Regions from separate parts of the Homo sapiens genome. Here all the other regions are linked to region 2. Evidence: promoter capture Hi-C in 16 types of primary human blood cells and fetal thymus (Javierre and others, 2016). All regions are on one chromosome and are shown on one strand. Each heading gives the region's core, a stretch centred on a gene start or on the middle of the fragment in contact. The rest is flanking DNA. Distances are from core to core; before and after follow the strand shown. Region 1 overlaps CLEC12B (C-type lectin domain family 12 member B). Region 2 holds the start of TMEM52B (transmembrane protein 52B). Region 3 overlaps CLEC1B (C-type lectin domain family 1 member B).

Region 1 (4,133 bases), core at 202-2,701, 160 kb after region 2:
AATACAATTAACAATAATCTACTGTACATTTCACAATAATGAGAAAATAATAATTTGAATGCTCCTAGCATAAAGAAAAGATAAATATTTAAAGTGATCGATATCCCAATTCCACTTATTTGATCTTTACACACTATCTGAATGTATCAAATTATCACATATACCCCAAAACATATACATCTCTTATGTATCAATAAAAAGTTTAAAAATCCATTAAGATGCCAAAGATCTTAAATTTTATCTAATAGAAAAATACTATTATATTTAAAATATTAATACAGTTGTTTCATTTAAATGTAGTTATGATGAGAGGTGTTCCTCAAAATTTTTTGTTTTATAGTCTGTGAAAGAATTTAGCAAACCTAATATCCCCTTACACATTTTTGTTGACGTCTATTTTTTCATAACTTTAAATAGTTAAAAAAATTGAAATTTTCCAAGTGTTATATATTCTATTTGTCCTTTAAATAGTTTCATCCAAACCCTGAAGTGGAAGGTTTAGTTCATTTTAATTCATAAAAGACACTTGCCGTATATTGTAATTGGCAAGTCCTCAACATGACACTAATTGTTGAACTAATCAGTCAATTCAGTCTTACTTTTTGTTAGAAAATGGTTGACAGTTATTTAGTATAAATAAATGTGTTGATATGTGTTCTTATGACCAGCAGCACCCTTTTGGATTGTAGGTGCTGGAGAGTCAGAATAGCTGAGTGACTGAGTGCACAATCCCTAAAGTGCAATTTATGAGCTGAGTGACCTCAGGCAAGTTACTTAATCTCTCTATTATAATATTTCTACCTATAAAATGGGAATATAACTGCTTTCTTCAAGGGTTAGTATTTATAAAATACTTTGAATGTAGTATTAGGTGTGTGTGTGTGTTAAATAAACACATTTCTACCAAAAGATAAAATTCAGTGCCTTGCTATAAATTTGTCACAGAGATGAAATGAACTATACCTCCTTTCAATATTTGTTACTGGAGCTCTTTTCTCAGTATGTTGTACTCCTCTTTTTATGTCTGTATTTATAATTCTCACAATCATTATTAATTTTCCCAGGATTCCATGGAAAGCTTGTGTTTACCCTCAATAGTTAGAGACGTACAAGGATGGAGAGGGAACAGAGCCATCTTCCCAGAACCAACTTCTGCCAGAGGAGTCCCATGATAATCCCAGCCAAAAGAACGAAAACATGAGTAATGGCTGTGACATAAGAAAATCCTAAGAGAGAAAACAGAGAAAAAGTTTTACGTGAGCGCCACATTCCAGTTTGCAGAGTTAAGATAGATGAGGACATTCATTAAATTCATGTATTAATTCTAATTCAAGATGCACTGAATTTCCATCATGTGAATCAGATGTTTTATTTATTTCTCTCTCATTGTATGGATAATGTCTATAACTAGAGAATGAGACTCAATCCTACCTTTTCTTCCAAACTGTCTATCTTCACTAGGGTGGAGTTCTTGTCTATGCAGTCCTTTCTACTGTTAGCCCAGGTTTTCTCCTCATTTGTTGTAAAATAGTAGCAACTATTTTGGTACCATTGCCACATCTTAGGACATGGATTACATCTGTGGTCTGAAAAGGAAATTATACCCAATAATATAAACTGAAGACTCTAGAGTGACTGGAGAAGGCTTTGAAACAAAATCATGTAATTGAACAATAGGGACTGAGAGCCTGCACCCTGAAAGCATACTGCTTTAGAAGCCTCTGAAAAAAAAGTGACCCCTGGTTATGGGTTGGGGCAACAGGGATTCTCTTTTCATGGCTTAGTCTTCTGACCTCAGAATTACCAGCTATGCCTTTAAGCTTTCAGAGCAACATGATCACCTAGAAATAGTTAATAAAATGAGGGGTTGAAGTATCCAGATTGATATCATTCCAAGATACTTCCCAAATTTGCCTGTGGTTTCAAAAATATTAAATGAATTTGTATATTTCCTTGCTGTGTGTAAATTTAGTGCAACATCATTAAGGTTCACTGGATGACATAACTCTCTCAATACTCTTAGGTGGTACATGTGATCAACTTAGACCAGGATAACATATGCCATCTGACTGGTCAGCAGGACTAAGTCTGATTACCTGAAGTATGAATGATTAGCTCTTGGCACAGTTTGATGGCCATTTGTTCCTGCCTCTTCAGTACACTGGAGATCTGTGACTTGAGAAATTCCTCCTCCATGGACAAGTTGTTGGAGTTGCCCAGTTGCTGGGATAAGTTATCCTGCTGCTGTTGGATGGTTTTCTGAAGTTGACTCAATTTCTCTGAATCTGAGTTAATGTCATTAGATATCTGCAAAACTCCAAGACATGACAGGAGACAAGTTCATATATTCTTCTATTCTTATAACTGTAGATAATTCTCGTGACAGAAACATTTCTTAATTGTTCAAGATTTATTAGTAGCTCTTAGTATTTGAGGTATCATGAAAGAAACAAACCAGATGCCTTTCTATTCCAAATTATTTATAGTTCTTTATAATTTTATTTACATTTTTATTATTGCACTATATTAAAATAATGATTTAATAATGATATATTTCTGACATCACATCTAAGGAAGGGCCAGTCATTCTGCCACTCATTTTCATGAAATTGTTTTATTTTTGTTTTATTTTATTTGGAGATAGATGATGTAATTGTTGTTTTAATGAAAACAGCATTCTTTGGGACAATGGATATCTCAAACTCTGCAGATGACCTGAGATGCTTGTTTACCAAAAGAAAAGAAAAAGCAGATCTTAATGGCATATCAGACCATTTCTCGTCATGGGTCCATGAAATATGCCCTTTTCATAAGCATTTAAGGTGCTTCATCAGCACAACAAATTTAAGAACCACTGCACCAAAAGCACTAAATTTTAGAAAAGAAATGTCACCCTTCTATATCGAACCAATGGACGTACGTTATTGCATTTTCACTTAATTTTTAAATATACATTATTGTAGAAGATCGGCTGCTAATCCTCATACTGATTGGCTCCAGAATATCTGTTACTGCTGCTTGAACATCATATTCCTTTTCAAAAGAGCAAGGTACATCATTAGTCTCTTTTTATGTTGGCAAAGATATGTCCAAATCCTAATTAACCATTAAATCCTAAAAAATTATCCATTAAATCATTAAAAAGAAATGAATGTAGCAGAGGAGATGTTAGTATCATTCAGCAAATTAACTTTCTTGACTGTGAGTTCCCTGTAAGCGAATACCATGCCAATTCACTACTCTGTATACCATATACTTAACAACCCTATAAAGTTTGTATTCTCAGGATGTTTTTCTCATTACTCAAGAACTCCCTACCATGTTCATCCCCAACTTCCCGAGGATGGGTCAGAATCAATAGAATGTTCCTTTGTGGCTGTGGTGCTTGAGAGTGGAGCTTCCATTGTCATGTGGAGATGGTTCAACTCTCTTACTTGGTAAGGTGTATCAGGCCACTCTTCCTCTTTGTTTATATGTCTTTCTCATTCATAGAAATCAGGCTGCTGCTGCTACTTGGAAGATTTCTCTCCACTAGAGAAGTTTCATGTAAGCAGACTGAACCTAGTCTAGTGTTAAGTCTTTCAGGTAAATAAAAATAGCAAGCACTTCCTTCAATACATATTTCTTGACTTTATTTCTCAGCATTGGAATGATAAGTGAATGTGTGTCTAGGCAGAAAAGAGGCTCTTTATTCTAATGAATAACTGGAAACAAAGAGTCTTTGTCTAAGTCCAGTTTAGCTTATCAAGATAAAACAATGAATTTAGAACCAAATCCTGATAATGTCTTTTGCCGGTTTTTTGGGAAGATATGACGAATAGGAGAGATATGAGACAGCAGAAAAGTATCAGACGATTCAGGATGCTAGGACCCATCTACAATCCAAGCTGAAAGTACATGGTTTACAATATGTTTTCTAGTTGCCTTTGTTGGGTTTGATGCTGATATACTTACACATCATCCCCAATGTCACCAGCCCAATCAGCAACATCAGGCAAAGAGTTACCAGACCCAGAGCAGCATGACGCCAAATGGGAGATGGAGCTGGATGCCCTGGAGAAAGCCAAAAGAGCAATCAGCACACAGAACTGCTTTGTGCTTGTTTCACTTTGGTTTGTTTATTTCTCCCACTT
Region 2 (4,644 bases), core at 1,749-4,248:
TTTTTTTTTGAGTCTTGCTCTGTCACCCAGGCTGGAGTGCAGTGGCGTGATCTTGGCTCACTGCAACCTCTACCTCCCGGGTTCAAGCAATTCTCCTGCCTCAGCCTCCCGAGTAGCTGGGACTACAGGCACGTGCCACCACGCCTGGTTAATTTTTGTATTTTTAGTAGACACAGGGTTTCACCATGTTGGCCAGGCTAGTCTCGAACACCTGACCTCAAGTGACCCACCCACCTCCGCCTCCCAAAGTGCTGTTGGGATTACAGGTGTGAGCCACCGCGCCCGGCCATGAACTCTTAATATTTCATAACATTTAATCACAATAACCCTCTTGGTGGGTATATTTAACCTTATCTTGAAAGGTTAAGGGACTAAGGCACAGGGTTTTAAGTAATGTGACCAGGCCAGGCGTGGTGGCTCACGCCTGTAATCCCAGCACTTTGGGAGGCCAAGGTGGGCAGATCATGAGGTCAGGAGTTCGAGACCAGCCTGGCCAACATGGTGAAATCCCGTCTCTACGAAAAATACAAAAATTAGCCCGGCGTGGTGATGTGCGCCTGTAATCCCAGCTACTCTGGAGGTTGAGGCAGGAGAATTGCTTAAACCCGGGCAGTGGAGGTTGCAGTGAGCCGAGATCATGCCACTGCACTCCAGCCTAGGCGAGCAAGACTCCATCTTGGAAAAAAAAAAAAGTGACCAAATGTACACACCTATTGATGCAGACAGAATTCAAATCAAACTCTATCATAGATATGTGTTGGATGAATTAATAGCACTGGGGACAAGTTTGCTCTAACAATTCCTTGACATTGCTATGAAGTCCCTTCTACTCCCTTTACAGAAAACAAAAAAACAAACAAAACTGTCCACTCTTTCTTCTACCTGATTTTTTAGTTGACTTCCTCTTTCAAAAACCCATTCAAGGCTGGGTGCAGTGGCTCACACCTGCAATCCCACCACTTTGGGAGGCCGAGGTGGGTGGATCACTTGAGGTCAGGAGTTCGAGATCAGCCTGACCAACATGGTGAAACCCCATCTCTACTAAAAAAATACAAAATTAGCCAGGCGTGGTGGTGCATGCCTGCAATCCCTGCTACTTGGGAGGCTGAGGCAAGAGAATCGCTTGAACCCAGGAGGCGGAGGTTGCAGTCAGCCAAGATCGTGCCACTGCACTCCAGCCTGGGTAACAAGGGCAAAACTCCGTTTAAAAACAACAACAACAACAACAACAAACCATTTAAGTAAACTCAATTCTAGAAGTTGCTTCTGTCTTCTAATAACCTGAGTGATCTGATATTTCAGGAAAGCAACCACAAAGGCCCTAGAAAAGAAACAGATTTGTAACTATTGGGAGTTTATGGCGGGTAGTGAAGGGGTAAGGAGACACACATTCTCAAGACCTATCAGTTGGAAAGGATCTGTAAAAGGATTAATGGCCAGCCTTTGCAGGTAACATTTGAGAAACCCGTGTTTGTGTTTTCATTGGAAAGAAATGGCCACTAACGATGAAAAAGCGTGTGTTTCCTCTACGCAACCATGGTACTTTCTTTCACTTTCTTCACTAAAGGTAAGAGAAGCCTAAAGTGCTCAGCAGAGAAAATGCTACTTTTCAGGCTTGTTGCAAAGAGAAAAGAAAGGAAAAATGAAGGGAAGACAAGGCAAAGGGAGTGAAGAGGAAGCAAAAAGAAAATATAAGAAAAAATGGATTTTCAGATACCACTTTAACTGTTCTATTAGCAAAAAAAAAAAAAAAACAAACCATACAGCCCACTCTGTACGGGGGCCATACGGGAATCTGAGACTATCCAGTTTTCTTCATTTGCTCTCCTTCTTGCTAGATGGCATAGCTCTATAAACTTCCCTGTGACAATTGTTTAGAATCCCTCAGTCCAGTGACCCTTTTCTCCACTAATGGATTACTCAGAGACTTCTGATTCATTGTGGGGCCCAAAATATTTTAAAAGAGCCCTGCCTCTCTTATTTCTAGACTAGAGGCACCTAAACTGCTAGAACAGGATTAGAAATTCCTGGATGGGAAATTCCGTTTAGGGGAATTACACACCTAGTTTTCATAATTTGTTTGGAATTTTGAGGGATGGGTGATAAGATGCTAAAAGAGATAAAATACTTCAGCGGCACTTCTAAAGTGCCACGGCAATCCTGCTCGTTTCCATGCTCACTCTAATTTCTGTCCCCCTTTTCATTGTCATTGCCATCAGTCACACATGCATCTATGCAATCTCGTAATACTAAGGAAACTTTGTAGTTTATTCATTTCCCTATGACCCCCTGGGTTCTGTATATGTCTCCCCACCCCGCAGTTCATTTCCTTTCAGACTCTTCTGAGAGTTGATTAATCTGGGGAAAAATACTCTTTCTGCCTTTTCACCACTGAACTCACCAGGATGAAATACAGCAGGGCTGAGGCCGCCACGACATGAACTCGGACTCCCATCGGGCTGAATTCCTGCTTCTTCAGAATCTTGCACTGGGCATCCGTTGCCTCCTTTCAATGCTCTGTGCCATATTTTACTTCTTGACCTAGAATTCTTAAGAAGAGAAACTTTTCTCAGGAATTTATCAGCTTTTCTCTCTCTCGTTCTCTCTGTCTCCTCCTACTCGCTCTGGCTGTTATTTTCTATGGCTTTTCCCTCTTCTTTCCTGTTTTTCTTCTTTATTCTTATTACTATTTCTATGGCCTCCACATTTACTTCCTTTTGCCTTCTTTCTTTCCGTTACACTATTAATTCTTTCTACATCTTGAAGTTTCTTTCTCCTACTGCTCCCAAAAAGGAGACATTCAAAGAGGACATATGTGTCCTCTGAATGAAGTATTTTTCTAGACAGCGATGAAAAACTTGGCTTTGAGGATGGTCAAAGGCAGATTGCTGGTGACCAAATATATTCCTTTCTTCATCAGAAAACTGGTAATATTCTTGATCCTTCACCAGAGTACTCCAGCGTGACTGTTGCAGGGTGAAAGTCACCCTGCTAATCTCCTTTCTTCTCTCTCCGTGTGACTAACAACCCCTTCTTGCTCTTTGAAACCCTCCCCTTCACTATGTTGATAATCAACTCTCCTGGTTCTGGGTCATTTATATCCCTAAGCATTGGGGTAAGACTGAGAGGTTGCCAAGTGAACAGGAAAGCCATCTCATCTTTGGAGAAAACAGACTTGAAGATGAGAAATCAAGTCGGAAGATTAGAATTTTCAGGTGTTATCAGTGACATCTTCCTCCTCCCTGACTTCACTTCCCATTGAAATAGATAACTGAGAAAGACATTTTTTTAAAACCAAATTTTAAAAAAGCAAATGTATAGGTTTCTTTCTTTCTTGCCTTTTCTTTGTTCCTTCTTTCTCTCTCTTTCTCTCTCTCTCTCTCTCTTTGGTTAAGGAGTGATGTGATTGAGAAATAAGTCTTGTCACTCAGGAAAATAAAACCTAAGGTTAGAGTAAAAACAAGCACACATGCAAAAGCATAGAATACTTTTTTTTTTTTTTTTTTTGAGACGGAGTCTTGCTCTGTCACCCAGGCTGGAGTGCAGTGGCGCAATCTCGGCTCACTGCAAACTCTGCCTCCTGGGTTCATGCCATTCTCCTGCCTCAGCCTCCCGAGTAGCTGGGAATACTGGCGCCCACCACCACGCCCGGCTAAGTTTTTTTGTATTTTTAGTAGAGACGAGACGGGGTTTCACCATGTTAACCAGAATGGTCTCGATCTCCTGACCTCATGATCCGCCCGACTCGGCCTCCCAAAGTGCTGGGATTACAGGCGTGAGCCACCGTGCCTGGCCTAGAATACTTACAATGAAACAAAGCTATAGACACAAATGTGGCCGGGTGCCATGGCTCATGCCTGTAATCCCAGCACTTTGGGAGGCCAAGGCGGGCTGATAACTTCGGCCAGGAGTTTGAGACCAGCCTGGAGAACATGATGAAACCCTTTCTCTACGAAACATACAAAAATTAGCTGTGTGTCATGGCAGGCACCTGTAATCCCAACTACTTGGGAGGCTGAAGCAGGAGGGCCACTTGAACCCGGAAGGCAGAAGTTGCAGTGAGCCGAGATCACACCACTGCACTCCAGCCTGGGTGATAGAGCGAGAATCTGCCTCAAAAAAGCAAAATATTAAAAGAAACAAAAGAATGCTGTATGAATGATTTATACTTAAGTAGGTGATCTTTTACTTAATACCAAATGTTTAATAAAAAAATTATTATTATTATTATTATTATTATTATTATTATTATTATTATTATTTGAGACAGAGTCTCTCTGTCACCAGGCTGGAGGGCAGTGGTGCAATCTCGGCTCACTGCAACCTCTGCCTCCTGGGTTCAAGCAATTCTCCTGCCTCAGCCTCCTGAGTAGCTGGGATTATAGACACCTGCCACGACACCCAGCTAACTTTTCTATTTTCAGTAGAGACAAGGTTTTACCATATTGGCCAGGCTGGGATAAGAAAAGTAGAAGTTAGTTTACAGTGATATATCTATCTCATAAGAATTGAATAAAACCTCCTTTCAGGACCTTTCTAGCTCAGTAAATCTAATTATGCTGAGTGATTGTGGAAGGGAGACTCTTGGGTGAGCTGATCATACTCTAAGGGTCCTCACACATAGCTTGATGATGGGATATGAGA
Region 3 (4,266 bases), core at 51-2,550, 180 kb after region 2:
AGTTCCTATTGGGAAGTATATAATATTGATATATTTTAAAGAAAATATTAGGATATAACAGAAAGGTTCCCGGTGGCTCAAGCTTTAAGAAATAAACAGTCACATGTGACTTTCACACAATATCTCCTGTGGAATGCCATTTTGAGTCTCACATATCTGTCAAGAAGCTCAAGTCATTTTTTATTTACCAAGAATGCATTATCACTTGTTATTCTGGGAGGTCTCAGAATATATAAGCATTTGGCCTTCACATAATTTTGTTACCCATAGATTGATTGATTCACTTATTCCTTCATTAATTCAGCAACTATGTGCTGAAACTATTCCAGAATTTGGACCTATGCAGTTAGTAAGACAGAAAGAAAAATGCTTAACCTCGACAAGAGTATATTCTAGTTAAAGCAACAGCCAAGAAACAAAGCAAATGATATAGTATATAGTTTAGTAGATAGTGATAATTGCTAATTAGAAGAAAGTAAATAGGGAAAGGTAGATGTACGTTATTTATAAATCCTTTTGAGAAAGACATCATAAATGCCTTTATCCAATTAACTACAACAAGTTAATACTTCCATATGTAAGATTTTATAGGCAAGCTGAGCAATAAAACCAAAGCAGGTAGGGCTTTAACTCTAAGGAATATACAGCTCATCAACAATGTATTTCTTTGTATTTCCTTTCTCTGTTTACATTTATTCCTTTGAATCATATTTGGTATTCTATTTGGGAGTATAATCCTCAACTGGTTGAAGATCTAAATACATGTTATAAACACAAAAGAAGATTAGAATATCAGCTATTTTGTGTACAATTTTACCTGTGTCCTATAAGTTTTTTTTAAGTTCTCAGACAAGTCAAATTGGTACAATTTCAAACATCAAATGTAATCCATTAATACTAATATAGACATGTAATCCAACATTTTTTGTCCAACGTCTTATCATGAAGCTTTGTCTATCATACCAAGAGCTGTGGAGGGATTCTGACCATTGTGTTTATTTATGTTTACAATAGGAGTACATCAAAGCCAGGACTCATTTAATTCGTTGGGTCGGATTATCTCGCCAGAAGTCGAATGAGGTCTGGAAGTGGGAGGATGGCTCGGTTATCTCAGAAAATATGTAAGTCACTGGACACTTAGAATAGGAGGGAGTACTGGAAACTCTTATTCTTGAGATTCCCTCTTCTCTCAGTCCAAGTCACTACTATGGGTTATAGAAGCAGCAGCTGGGTCACTTACCTGCTAATTCAAACAAGACAGCGCTGGTCATAAGACAATTCTTTCCCCTCTCTCCCATTACTTTGCTCTTTATCTAAGCCACAATCCACCTTTATCTCTGATATTATTCCCATTCATTTTTACATTCAACCTTACCATGGAACACTGTGTGCATGTATGTGTATGTGTGAGTGTGTGTGTGTGTGTGCGCGCATGCACATGTGTGTGTGTTTTTGTGTTTTGCTTGTTCTGATTATCTTCACATATTTTTAAAACAAAATTTCATATCATTATTTTACAGTTGAAAGTTGTTATCTTGAGAGTCCTTTTGAGTTTTCAATATTGTTTTGCCTATTCCTCTATTCTGGGAGTCTCCAAGAATTCGATACATTGTATTTCACAAGATAATTCCAATGTCCATTAACGAAGCTTTGTCCTTCTACAAACAATCCAGGCAAAGGGACTGATTGCATTGAGTGGAGTTGCTTCCTATATGGCTTTCCAATCTGCAGTCTCAACATCTTTTGTTCATCCTGTATATCAAAACTGCAGTCTCTCTTCAATTAAAATTTAAACTGATAACCAAAACTTATATAATCTGATTATTACTCAAATTATGAATTAAATTTTTAAACAAATATTTATTAAGTATTTACTATAGATAGGATCTTAGGATACTACAACTACAAGCAAGCCTCTTCACAGACCTTGGGCTTTATCTCCTATCTCCTATTGCTTGCTGCCTCATTTACAATATTGCAGGCAACTTAGTGTTCTTTACATTCTTCCAACAAATCAAACTCGTTTTGTTACCTTAAGGCTTTTGTCTTGCTATTTTCTTCTAGAATGCTCTGCCTCCACAACTCCATGACCATCTCTCCACTGAGACTCAAGTCTCTATTTAAACATCACTTCTTCAGTGAACCTAACTCTACCCAAACTAAATTAGCCTCCCTTAAACCCATATCCATACAGTCCACCACTGTTTTGTTTCTTTGTAACTCTTACCACTGTCTCAATTTTTCTTGTCTATTTTTTGTGGGCTTCTTACCGGTATCGCCCCACTTAAATGAAAGTTCCCCAACAAGAAAGACATTAGCTTTCTTGTCTTTCTTTATCAGTGTATCCTCAGCACATAGAACAACTTTGTCACATAGTTCTGCAGGTATTCTCCAAATAAACCAATAAGTATATATTCCTTGTCATCTCATTATAAGCAGTTTAGAAAGAAAGAAATATAACTTAACAGACAATTACAATACAGCCTGCTGTGTTAGATGATTTATCTTGCAACATAAATCCTGATTTCAAAACTACTGAATCAACTCACTTTTCCATGAGCGTATTCCCATCTAGTGCAGCTACTTGTCCTGTAGGGCTCTTCCATCTCCTGTCAGTTCATCTGAGTCCTGACCTTCCATCAATACCGAACTAAAGTCTGATCTTGTAGATAATGCGTTTTCCCATTATTTTGGAGCCATCTCCATCACTTCTTCAGGGCTCCTATTGTACCTACTGTTCCCTTGCTCCTAATTTTATGCTAAATGAAATTGATATTGGGCTTTTTAAATATGCATATCTTGTACTGCCAAGCAGGGTGGAACTTTCTCAACAATGAGAATCGTTTTTTTTTTTGTTTTTTTTTCCTATTTTCCTCAGTCTCTATTTGGTGCATCAAACTACTATACGCAGAGTCTGATTACTGATTGTTTGCTCAGTTTTCAAAGGAATTTATTCTAACTTTCCCTTCACAGGTTTGAGTTTTTGGAAGATGGAAAAGGAAATATGAATTGTGCTTATTTTCATAATGGGAAAATGCACCCTACCTTCTGTGAGAACAAACATTATTTAATGTGTGAGAGGAAGGCTGGCATGACCAAGGTGGACCAACTACCTTAATGCAAAGAGGTGGACAGGATAACACAGATAAGGGCTTTATTGTACAATAAAAGATATGTATGAATGCATCAGTAGCTGAAAATTGCTTATTTCTCCCTTTCTTCTCACTGGAGTTATTTTTAATATTATCTTTCCTATCAGAATTACCTAGTCCCTTCTTTGAATATACAGAAGCCATCACGTGAGTTTATCATTTGCTTCCCAATTGTTCTATTTTCCTTTAATTTTCTTTCTTCTTGTCCTTCATTTCTAATTACCTGAACATGGTATGATTTACTGCATCTTCAGATATACACATATAACATCAAAATCAGGCCAATATAGGTTAGGGCTTAATTAATATAAGTTGTGCAAAATATCTATGTTTGAAATCTGTCCAAAATATCTAAGTTTGAAAGGCGGTGTAAGATAGTAAAAAGAATATTAAACTTAGAATCAGCAAAATAATTTAGATGTCAATTAACTAAATTACAATCATGAACAAGTTTCATAACCTCTTTAACTTCCCTTTTCTCATATTTAAAATAGGAATAATAACAACCATCTTTTATATCTCACAGTTCTACAACCTAAAATAGAACTTTAGAGTGTTAACTGTACCAGAAACTCCATGAAAGCGAACACTATGACTTCCCCATTCACTATTCTCTTACCAGCACCAACCCGAAACCCTGGCTCACAAAACAGAGAGATATTTGTTTCTCTTTGTATAAGATAGTTCATGAGAAAAATAGCTCAATCATTAAAACATTACGCAAATAGAATTACTATTCCAAGTCTACCTCTGGTTAGATTCAACAGTAGTAATTTTCTGCGCTAGAGAAGGAAAAGAAAGTTTGCAAGAAAACTCACTGGGTTTGTAAAATGAATAAATGCTTCTTAAGTTTCAGAGGCTACTAGACAGAAGGACAAGTAAAAATGCTTTAATTAGTATTTTCCTAACAGTTCTGTGCTTTATTTTTGCTGAGTAACTCAGGAAGTATTTACAGAATATGTGGAAAGGCACCCTTTTACAGGATAATAGGAAAAAATTGCATTTCTTTCCCACAGCTTCCCTTTTTTAACTAGTGGCTACCATTTACGAACATGATTCTCAAACATCTCAACGGAGGTTTTGGTTAAAACATAGAGAAACCAAATAGGAAACT

What was found. Contacts are between HindIII fragments. The CHiCAGO score rates a contact against its expected background, and 5 or more counts as called.
Region 1: a fragment that was not itself captured here is called in contact with the fragment with the promoter of TMEM52B in region 2 in 1 of 17 cell types (neutrophils); the score reaches 5.4 in neutrophils.
Region 3: a contact is called between a fragment that was not itself captured here and the fragment with the promoter of TMEM52B in region 2, in 1 of 17 cell types (monocytes). The highest score is 6.8, in monocytes.

The regions. Positions count from the first base shown.
Region 1 is chr12:10,012,705-10,016,837 of GRCh38, reverse strand. CLEC12B (C-type lectin domain family 12 member B) reads right to left here. Exons shown (of 6, transcript NM_001129998.3): 2 at 3,955-4,053; 3 at 2,097-2,315; 4 at 1,432-1,586; 5 at 1,111-1,226. LOC102724020 (a long non-coding RNA gene) reads left to right here. Exons shown (of 4, transcript NR_169587.1): 3 at 690-765; 4 at 1,065-1,952. Among named protein-coding and RNA genes, the nearest start is that of CLEC12B, 4.1 kb to the right of the region's middle. The HindIII fragment of the contact is 742 bases long and covers 1,081-1,822 here.
Region 2 is chr12:10,177,386-10,182,029 of GRCh38, reverse strand. TMEM52B (transmembrane protein 52B) reads right to left here and starts at 2,998. Exons shown (of 5, transcript NM_001384896.1): 1 at 2,402-2,998. The coding sequence starts at 2,455. RefSeq lists an enhancer at 1,441-2,640. The HindIII fragment of the contact is 29,503 bases long and covers 1-4,644 here.
Region 3 is chr12:9,991,995-9,996,260 of GRCh38, reverse strand. CLEC1B (C-type lectin domain family 1 member B) reads left to right here. Exons shown (of 6, transcript NM_016509.4): 5 at 1,015-1,121; 6 at 2,974-3,186. The coding sequence ends at 3,118. It also overlaps a transcript of CLEC12A not described here. Among named protein-coding and RNA genes, the nearest start is that of CLEC1B, 5.0 kb to the left of the region's middle. The HindIII fragment of the contact is 700 bases long and covers 951-1,650 here.